2 separate regions of the Homo sapiens genome follow, and region 1 is linked to region 2. Evidence: promoter capture Hi-C in human tissues and cell types (Jung and others, 2019). All regions are on one chromosome and are shown on one strand. Each heading gives the region's core, a stretch centred on a gene start or on the middle of the fragment in contact. The rest is flanking DNA. Distances are from core to core; before and after follow the strand shown.

The links. Contacts are between HindIII fragments. The study calls those that stand out against the background at their distance.
Region 1: a fragment that was not itself captured here is called in contact with the fragment with the promoter of DNAI2 in region 2 in 2 of the 25 tissues and cell types used here (liver and pancreas).

The regions. Positions count from the first base shown.
Region 1 is chr17:74,472,549-74,477,308 of GRCh38, reverse strand. It overlaps CD300A (CD300a molecule), which reads right to left. Exons shown (of 7, transcript NM_007261.4): 2 at 3,435-3,773; 3 at 2,624-2,777. Among named protein-coding and RNA genes, the nearest start is that of CD300A, 8.3 kb to the right of the region's middle. The HindIII fragment of the contact is 3,703 bases long and covers 1-3,667 here.
Region 2 is chr17:74,271,771-74,276,293 of GRCh38, reverse strand. DNAI2 (dynein axonemal intermediate chain 2) reads right to left here and starts at 2,060. Exons shown (of 14, transcript NM_023036.6): 1 at 1,949-2,060. The HindIII fragment of the contact is 25,570 bases long and covers 1-4,523 here.

The sequences.
Region 1 (4,760 bases), core at 567-3,066, 200 kb before region 2:
GTGATCATGGCTCACTGCAGCCTTGAACCCCTGGGCTCAAGTGATCCTCCTGCCTCAGCCTCCAGCTACAGGCACAGGCCACCACGGCTAATTTTTAAATTTTTCGTAGAGACTCAATCTTGCTATATTGCCCAGGATGGTCTCAGACTCCTGAGCTCAAGCCACCCTCCTGCCTCAGCCTCCCAAAATGCTGGGATGACAGGCATGAGCCAATATACCTGGTCTCCTTCTCTAACTTTTTAAGTAGATAGATAAGGTCAATTAAAAAAAATAGACAGTATAAAGCCCCCTTTCTACACACCCCCCATTTACACATTCCCCAATTTCCCCACATACACACACGTGCTGTTCTTAAGAACCTTCCAGAGTTTCTTTATGTGTATACAAGCAAATACGAATGTACGGGATCTCCTTTCTCTTTCACACAAAGGAGGCCTCGTCTAACACTATTCTGGTTTTACTTAGCAATACATCTTAGAGGTCTTTCCACGTCAGTACATAAAGAAGTCCCTCACTCTTTCCTATAGCTGCAGGGTATTCCAACACATGGATAGACTGTGATTTATTTAAATGTTCCCACTGAATGGGCATTTCCCCAGTCCTTTGCAATGGTAAACGTTGCTTATAAATCGCCTTGCAGCTCCACCTTTTCACACCTGACCACGCAGCAGCAGATTGACCAGGAGGCTGATGCAGCCCAGCTTCAGGTCCCTCCATTGCTTGGGCCCTTTCCTTCATGCCTACGTTTGCATTCATAATTTTCTCATCTTTTTCTTAGATTACCCACCCACCAACCCACCCCGCAAACTGCACAACCTTCAGGCCCCACAGAACTCAGCGCTGCCACCTATGTGTATCTACAGGCTAAACTTCTGGAAGTGGCATGTTCAAGCCTGAATTTTGCCTTGTCTTATATGTTGGCAGAAGCCTGTGGAGGGGTTTATGGATGTTGTCCAGTAAAGAATCTGGCTGGCCTTTGTCCCTAGCTCTTAGGAGGGAGGCTCTAAATCCTTGGAATGTCCCAAAAATTAGGAGTGTCTTTGTTGTTCATGAATCACACCTGGACTTTGGTAAGAGATGAGACAATAGGATGGGGCTGGTCACCAGAAAGACCAACTACGTAATTAGAGATTTGGAGCCCTGAGCCAGCCCAACCTCCCAAAGAGGGACTGGAGGTGGAGACAGTTCAATCACATCATGCCTATGTAATGAAACCCCAATAAAAACTCTGGACACCAAAGCTTGGAGGAGCTTCCTGGTTGATAAATATATTGAGGTGCCGCAGGGAGGGTGCAGGTGATGCTCCCTGATTCCACCTGGAGAGGGCACAGAAACTGTTTGGGAATCCTCCCAAGCCTTGTCCTATGTGTCTCTGCATTGGCTGGTCCTAATCTTTATCCTTTATCCTTATGATAAAACTGTAATTGTAAGTATAATGCTTTCCAGAGTTCTGAGTCTAACAAATTATTGAACCTGGGGGGGTCCTGGGAACCCCCAAATTTGCATCCAGTTGGTCAGAAGTGTGGTGGCCTGGGGATCCCCAAAGTTCGACTGGCATCTAAATCAGGGCGGTCTTGTGGGATCTGATTTAGATGTGGAAGCTCTTCACCTGTGGGGTCTGCACTAACTCTGGGTGGATAGTGCCAGGATGGAATTGTGGGGTTTTGTGCTAGAATAGGGAGTCCGTGAATCCCAGAAAAGGTTTGTGACTGCATGTGTTTTTCTGGGGAGAGTGTCCATAGATGTCAGATTCTATGTGGGGTTGGTGAACCCGAAAAAGGTTAAGAACCACTATTTAGAGAGGAGAACTCAAGGCTCTGGAGTCACATAAACCAGAATTGGAAGCTTAGCCTTAGCCTCTTGTAGCTACTTGACTGGGCAAATTGCTTCACCTCGCTGAGTCTCAGTTTACTCATCTGTAAAATGGGGATTGATGTGGGTTGGCTGGGTCCCCACCCAAATCTCATCTTGAATTGTAGCTCCCATATAATTCCCACGTGTTGTGGGAGGGACCCAGTGGGAGATAACTGAATCATGGGGGTGGTTTGCTCCATACTGTTCTTGTGGTAGTGAATAAGTCTCACGAGGTCTGATGGCTTTATAAGAGGAAACCCCTTTTGCTTGGTTCTCATTCTCTGTCTTGCCTGCTGCCATGTAAGACATGCCTTTTGCCTTCTGCCTTGATTGTGAGGCCTCCTCAGCCATGTGGAACTGTGAGTACATTAAAACCTCTTTCTCATTATAATTTATCCAGTCTCGGGTATGTCTTTATCAACGGTGCGAAAACAGACTAATACACGGAATGACAACAGTACAGGGCTGCAGTGAAAGGCAAGTGAGAATACTCATGTGAAGCATCTAACACGGGCCTCGTAGGATGTTACCAGCTGTCAGTAACTATCACTTTCCTTCCATCTGCCCCCCAACTTCCCCCCTACCTGAGCCCCCTTCCAAAGCCAAGGGCAGGTCCAAGCCGGGGTGTTCAGACTATGGCTTCCAACCTGGGCCTGGGGCAAAGGGAGCGATGCACACCTCCAGCTGGCCCACATGGCCAAGGTCCCCGCCCTGGGCTCCTCCTCTTAGCACAGGGCCCCCTCCATGTCTCAGGGGCTAGGGTGCTTACTGTGAGTTCACCACCTCCTCAGTTTCCTCCTGGATGCTGGCACTGTGGGTGGCACCCACTGCAAACAGGGTAGTGGATGATACAGGTGGAAATGCAGTTGTGATTGTTGAGGTCTTGGCCGCAGTGATACTTGCAGGTGTCATTGACGTTGATGCTGGTGGCAAAACCACAAGTCAGACCCAGGGAGCTGTCCTCTGGCTCTCCCACCACTCAGGATGCCTTTTTGGTTTGATTTCACACAAACTGCCCACTAAGGAAGGGGGCAGGATGCAGGACCCTGGGGCTAGAGTCTCTCCAGGACCCTCCTGGGCCAACTGGGCATTTCTGAACAGGACACGGGTGCCACTCCCAGTGGTCCTGATTTTCCATCCTGCTGATGAGGGTCCAGGTGCTCCTGCGAAACTCCATGCTGCAGAGGAGTCTGTCTACACTGCAAATCTGACCTGTCATGTGGTAAGGCTCCCCCTGAGGACAGCAGCTTCCCATCTGGCCCCCCAGCCTCTCTGTTCAGCCCCACCCCTCCCCCACTCAGCTGCACTTCCGTTGGGGCTGAGCCACAGGTGCGCTCCTGGCTCCTTCACAGGCAACGCTCTCTCAGCCTCCCTGTCACTGGACCCTTCCCTTCTTCAATACTGGGCAGACATGTCAGCTGCTCCAGGAGAGACCCCCTGACTGTGTTCCCCTGGCCCCCACCTCTCTCTCTCTTACGCACACACACACACACACTGTCTGCTTCACGTCTCTGATCTGATTCCTGCCCCAACAATTCCAACCTGAGCCTATTTAGGCGCTGAGGGAAGGAGGGGCTCACCCGGGAACACGGACACCTCAACCTCGACAACGGGATCATGAAAGTCTCGGAGCCATGGTGTATCCACCCCACACCAGTAGGTGCCTGCATCCTCCTCTGTGAGATTCTCCAGGGTCACTGTGAAGCTGAGGTTTGCAGGACTGTCCCTGATGGACACTCGGCCGTTCCTTTTTCCTGCTGACCCTTTGGTCTCCACAATCTTGTCACATAGGAAAATCTGTGGTGGTCTGCACCAGTATTTGTTGAGGGTCCTGTGTTCCTTCTCATAGGGACACTGCACACTCAGGGATCCCCCCACGGGGCCCGCCACGGTCCTGCATTTGCTCAGAGCAAAACATCCTGGAAAACACAAGCCAGAGTCCCAGCTCCTCCTCAGATGAGCCTGGTCAGGGGTGCCCTGGGGTCAGGGCCGCATGGACCCTGGGGGTGTGGAGGAGGCAGCGGCAGGCAGAGAGGCCTTGTCCACCCAGGAGCGGGGACTGAGGATGAGAGGCTACCTCCGCACACAGGTGGGAATGGGGCAGAGGCTTTCCATGGAGACCGGAAGAGCTCAGGCTGGGTGCCCTGGAGTCACCTCCTCCAAAGATTCCCCGACTCCACATCAGCACCCCCAGCCCTCAGCCCCTGACTCCTTCACCTCATATCAGCCCCATCAGCCAGATCACAGCTTGAGTATTCTCTTTTCTGCTCTACCACCCTCAAGATTTTGCTCATAGTAGCCCCTTTCTCCAGCCCCCTGCCTCCTTTCCCTTACCCTTCCCACCCCTCTCACCCACCAGGGGCCTCCTGCTTCCAAACCTGCCAGGAGCATGAGAACTCACCCCTAAGCACCTGCACTCCCGGGAGGGCCACCCCAGCCCTGGGCAACCCTGCAAGAGGAAGACCGGCCCACACACTGATCTGGTCCCACCAAGGGGCAAACCCGGGCAGTAATAGGGTTGTCAAGCCATTTTGACAAGAATACTGGCTGGGTACAGTGGGTTATGCCTGTAATCCCAGCACTTTGGGAGGCTAAGGTGGGTGGATCACTTGAGGCCAGGAGTTCGAGACTAGCCTGGCCGACATGGTGAAACCCTGTCTCTACTAAAAATACAAAAATTAGCTGGGCGTGGTGGCATGCGCCTGTAATTGCAGCTACTGGGGAGGCTGAGGCACAAGAATCGCTTCAACCCTGGAGGCGGAGGTTATGTTGAGCTGAGATGGCACCACTGCACTCCAGCCTGAGTGACAGGGTGAGACTCTGTCTCAAAAAAAAAAAAAAAGAGTCACAAACGCAGAAGGCTTGCTGACGAAAACTTTCATCCTGTGTCTTACCTTAGTTTGCCC
Region 2 (4,523 bases), core at 811-3,310:
GGTCCAGACATCAAAGATTCAGGCGTCTCCCGCATCCCCGGGGAGGCAGTCAGATGGGAACCTTCACTCACTATAAAAACAAAACTCGTCTTGTGCAGTGAGAATGAGCAAAGTAATTCCTGGAGAGAACCTCCGGTGGCTTAAGGGAAAGTGTGTTTTCCAAGCTGGGAGGAAGGCCAAGGGAGTGATGGGGAGGAGGAGTGTCAGCGTGGGAGACTGGGAAGGAGGCAAGCTGGAAGGTCAGCCCTCCACATTGAACTCCCTAGTGGAATAAGGAGATGAGAACATTTTCCTCTTCTTCTTGGTCCCTGGTACAGCCCCTACTGGGTTCCTGCGAGTGGTGGGCCCTGCATGGCACCTGGCAGGAGAGGACTTCCTTCCCTCTTTCTTTGTTGTTGTTGCTTTTGGGACAGTGTTGCTCTGTCACCCAGGCTGGAGTGCAGTGGTGTGATATTGGCTCACTCCAACCTCTGCCTCCCAAGTTCAAGCGATTCTTGTGCCTCAGTCTCCTGAGTAGCTGAGACTACTGGTGCATGCCACCACACTCGGCTAATTTTTTTTTTTTTTGAGACGGAGTCTCAGTCTGTCACCTAGGCTGGAGTGCAGTGGCCTGATCTCAGCTCACTGCAACCTCCACCTCCCAGGTTTAAGCAATTCTTCTGCCTCCACCTGCCGAGTAGCTGGGACTACAGGCGTGAGCCACTGCACCCGGCCAGAATTTTTGTATTTTTAGTAAAGATGGGGTTTCACCATGTTGGGCAGGCTGGTCTCAAACTCCTGACCTCAAGTGATCCATCCTCCTGGGCCTCTCAAAGCACTGGGATTACAGGTGTGAAAACCGCACCCAGCTTTCTTTCTCTTTCTTATGTCCTTGTGCACCTTCTGGAATTCCGGGGTCCTGAGGGACTCACTCTACCCTCAAAAGAGGCAGACCTCCCTAGAAAGCCCCCATTTATTTTCCCCCAGGATAGCACTAAGCATGGCTGAGCCCCCCAAGGAAAGTGAAGGTTGAGGGCAGGACGAGTTGGGAAGAGGTCCCCAGAATTGGAGACCGATGGGGGTCAGTGACTACCTGCCCTCACAACTACCTTGTGGTCTCCTTGACGGAAAGACTGTGGTCTTTTATTCACTCCCGTCCCCAGGGACTGGCACATAGAAGGGGCCCAAGACTCCTGTCACCTGCTGCGTTAGTGACTGTGATACCAGCGCCTACCAGGCTTCTCTCTACAGCTCTCTCCCCTGTTCCTCCTCTGCTGACCGTGACAAACAAGCAAAGGATTTGAAACCAAGGATTCGAGAGGAAAACACATAGGGTCTGAAAGCTGGGAGAAGACGCACTTCTGTGGTTCAAGAGAATGTGGTAAACCTTGACCTTGAGCAGGAAGGAGGAACTGCACACGCTCCGGAGGAACTCACCAACTGTATGACCTCGATCACACGAGAACGCCAGCTCCCAGGTTGAGGAAGAAATGAAAGAAAGCACTTAAAACACCTGCCACCTAGCAGGTGTGCAATACTGTTAATTTACATCCCTCTATCCTGAGCAGAAAGCTCTCCTCTTAAAGGGCCCATCTTCCCATCACCCTAGCCGGAGGCTGTTTTTCTTCTTTTTTTTCCATCCATTCAGCTGTAAATCCTTCAGAGGTCTCCAGTCCACTCCAGGACAAGGACTGTATCAGGACCTGAGTGGGTAGGAGGGTATGAGGCAGGGTGTACAGAGGCTGCAGGGTCCTGCGACTTGGGGCGGATCCAGGGCAGCGAGGACTAAGGGGAAGAGGGCACTAGGAGCGCTAGTCCTGGCAGCCACCATCTGGCAGAGCTATCCCAGAAGGAAGCCCCCCAAGAGGAATGTTTGGCACTCTTGGTGGTTATTACCCTGTAAGTCTCTCCCTGTCACTCTCCACTCTAGTCTTTAGCCTCCGACGTCCTCCTGGCGCCCGCCCCTTACCCTGGGTCCGCTCCTTCTGCTTCTGGGTCTCTGGGGAAGCGTTCAATCCACGGTCGCGGCTCCGGTGCTCCTCAAACGGCGGCGTTTACCGGTTGCTTGGCAACCCCGGCCTGGCTCCGGACGCGCGGGGCGACGCGGAAGGACCCCGGAGCACGTGACTCCTTTCCTGCCACGTCGGAAGCGCAGGCCATCCCTCTTCTTTTTGGAGGTCTCCTGAGTTAGGAGAAGAATTAACCAATAGGTTGGTAACATACTAATAATGATCATGAATATTTGTAGGGGCGTTGCCAAGGCGCTTATCCAAGCCTACGTTTGTATGCATTTGCATCGAGCAAGGCACCCAGAAAATGCAAGGAAGAATAGTCAGTGCTTGGGAAGCCCTGATCCCTGGGTGGTGATGGCGGGCTCTGCTTACCATCTTGGCCGACTGTGTTGTCCTGCCTTCCTTCAGTTTCCGCATCCATTCAGTGGGAATTATAACTCTGCCCTCCCCTCTGCTACCATCCTTCCTCCACTTTCTGTAATAAAGACATCTTCCCGCACCACCAGAATGGAAACTCCTTGGGAGTAGAAGCTGGGGAATTTTTTTTTTTTTGAGACGGAGTCTCGCTCTGTCGCCCAGGCTAGAGTGCAGTGGCGCGATCTCGGCTCACTGCAAGCTCCGCCTCCCGAGTTCACACCATTCTCCTGCCTCAGCCTCCCGAGTAGCTGGGACTACAGGTGCCCGCCACTACGCCCGGCTAATTTTTTGTATTTTTAGTAGAGACGGGGTTTCTCCGTGTTAGCCAGGATGGTCTCGATCTCCTGACCTTGTGATCCGCCTGCCTCGGCCTCCCAAAGTGCTGGGATTACAGGCGTGAGCCACCGCGCCCGGCAAAGCTGGGGATTTTTACAGCTTAGCTGGGTGATTGGCACGAAATGTACTGTGTTCATTGAATGAATGGTTGAATGAATGAAACGAGTCATGTTTCTCAGGGAGTTAAGGCAATTGCGATCATGTAAATTAAAACAAGGGAATTTGGGGCTAGAAAAAAATGAATTTGAATCCCAGATTGGCTACCTACTAATCTCATGGCCCTGGGCAAGTTCCTTTCCTTTTCTAAGACTCAGCTATCCTCATCTGCAAAGTGGCAGGACAGTGGCGGTGCTTATTAGATAATGGGGAGGATTAAGTGAGAGACAACACAGGGGCGTGTCCAGCCCCCGTCCAGAGCTACTGGTGCCTGAATGAGTGGCAGCTCGGGGAATGAGGTTATCCCGAGTTCAGATGCTGACATCGGAAATTTGGACTGGGACAGAAGAGGAGTGCGTCATCCAAGAAGTGGGATTGGGGTTGGAACTGGGCCTTGAAAAATGGTTATGAGTTGCAGGGAAGAGGAGTGGGGAGGGCGTTCCAGATTGGGGGAGGGCATGGCGTGAGCAAGGAAGGAAGGGGCAGTCGTCATGGAAGAAAGGCATTTTGCGAGGATGGTGGGTGGATCAGTCTGGCTGGGGTTGAGAGTCCCTGCAGGGGAAAAATGAGAGAGGAATTTGCAAAGGTCAGCCAGGGCCAGTCTGTGGGGGGTCCCAAGAGAGGCAGGCTGAGGGGCCCAGACAGCTTTCCATGGGAAGCCCTCAGCGGGTTTGGGATCTGTGAAAGGACAGGAAGGAAGCAAACGTTTCTCTCCCACTTCCCAACTTCTCCATATATGTGTTGTCACCACTACCCACCTGCCTTTAGTGGGGCAGGTGCAAGGAAATTCCCAATGAGACGGCACCTTGCAGGGCCGCACTAACCAAAGACAAGCACCTAAATGACTGCTGCCACCAATCTCTCCTGATCCGTTCTGGCTCGCACCAGTTTCTCGGGACAAAGAACTCTTAGGGGTGGGTGCTGAGGGTCCTGACAGGGGCTGGGTGGAGGAGCTCCTGAAAGACGCATTGAAATGGCTTTGTGTGGTCAGAGGTGAATCAGACCCAAAGTCTCCAAGAATAGGAAACGATCCACTCCATGATGAGGTAGTGGCTGGCTGGGGTTGCAATCATAATGCAACCCTTTCCACTCCACCTCCAGCCCTGGGAAGCCGAGGGCTCTCTGAAGACACATTATTTTGTGGGTGGGAAAGTGGGTTAGAAGGGGAAATAGGAAAAGTTGAAAGGAAACTGCAGCCACCTTTACCATATTATCCAACAATTTAGTACAGGCTCCCCACCCCCACCCTCACCCAGAAGGCTGCAGGCCACCGACCACAGAGGGCAGCTCTGTTCACTGGCCAAACAGTTACCCCTTGGCCGGCTGCCTCGGCGTGAGGTCATATAATTAGAAGTATTCACAAGGACCTAGTTTGAAAACAATTGCGGTGCCTCTCAGATCTTCACCCAATCACAGCATAATTGGCAGCAGAAATTCTTTGCTGAGAGCCGCCCCTGGCCCTGGACATCCCCAGGCATTGCCACAACCCGTTCCACTGCTGTGTCCCCCTTTAGTCCCAATTTTTGTGTGCGTGGTGAACTACACATAAAATTTACCATCTTAACCATTTTTCAGTGTATAGTTCAGTGGTATTAAGTTCATTCACATTGTTTTTTGGTCTCG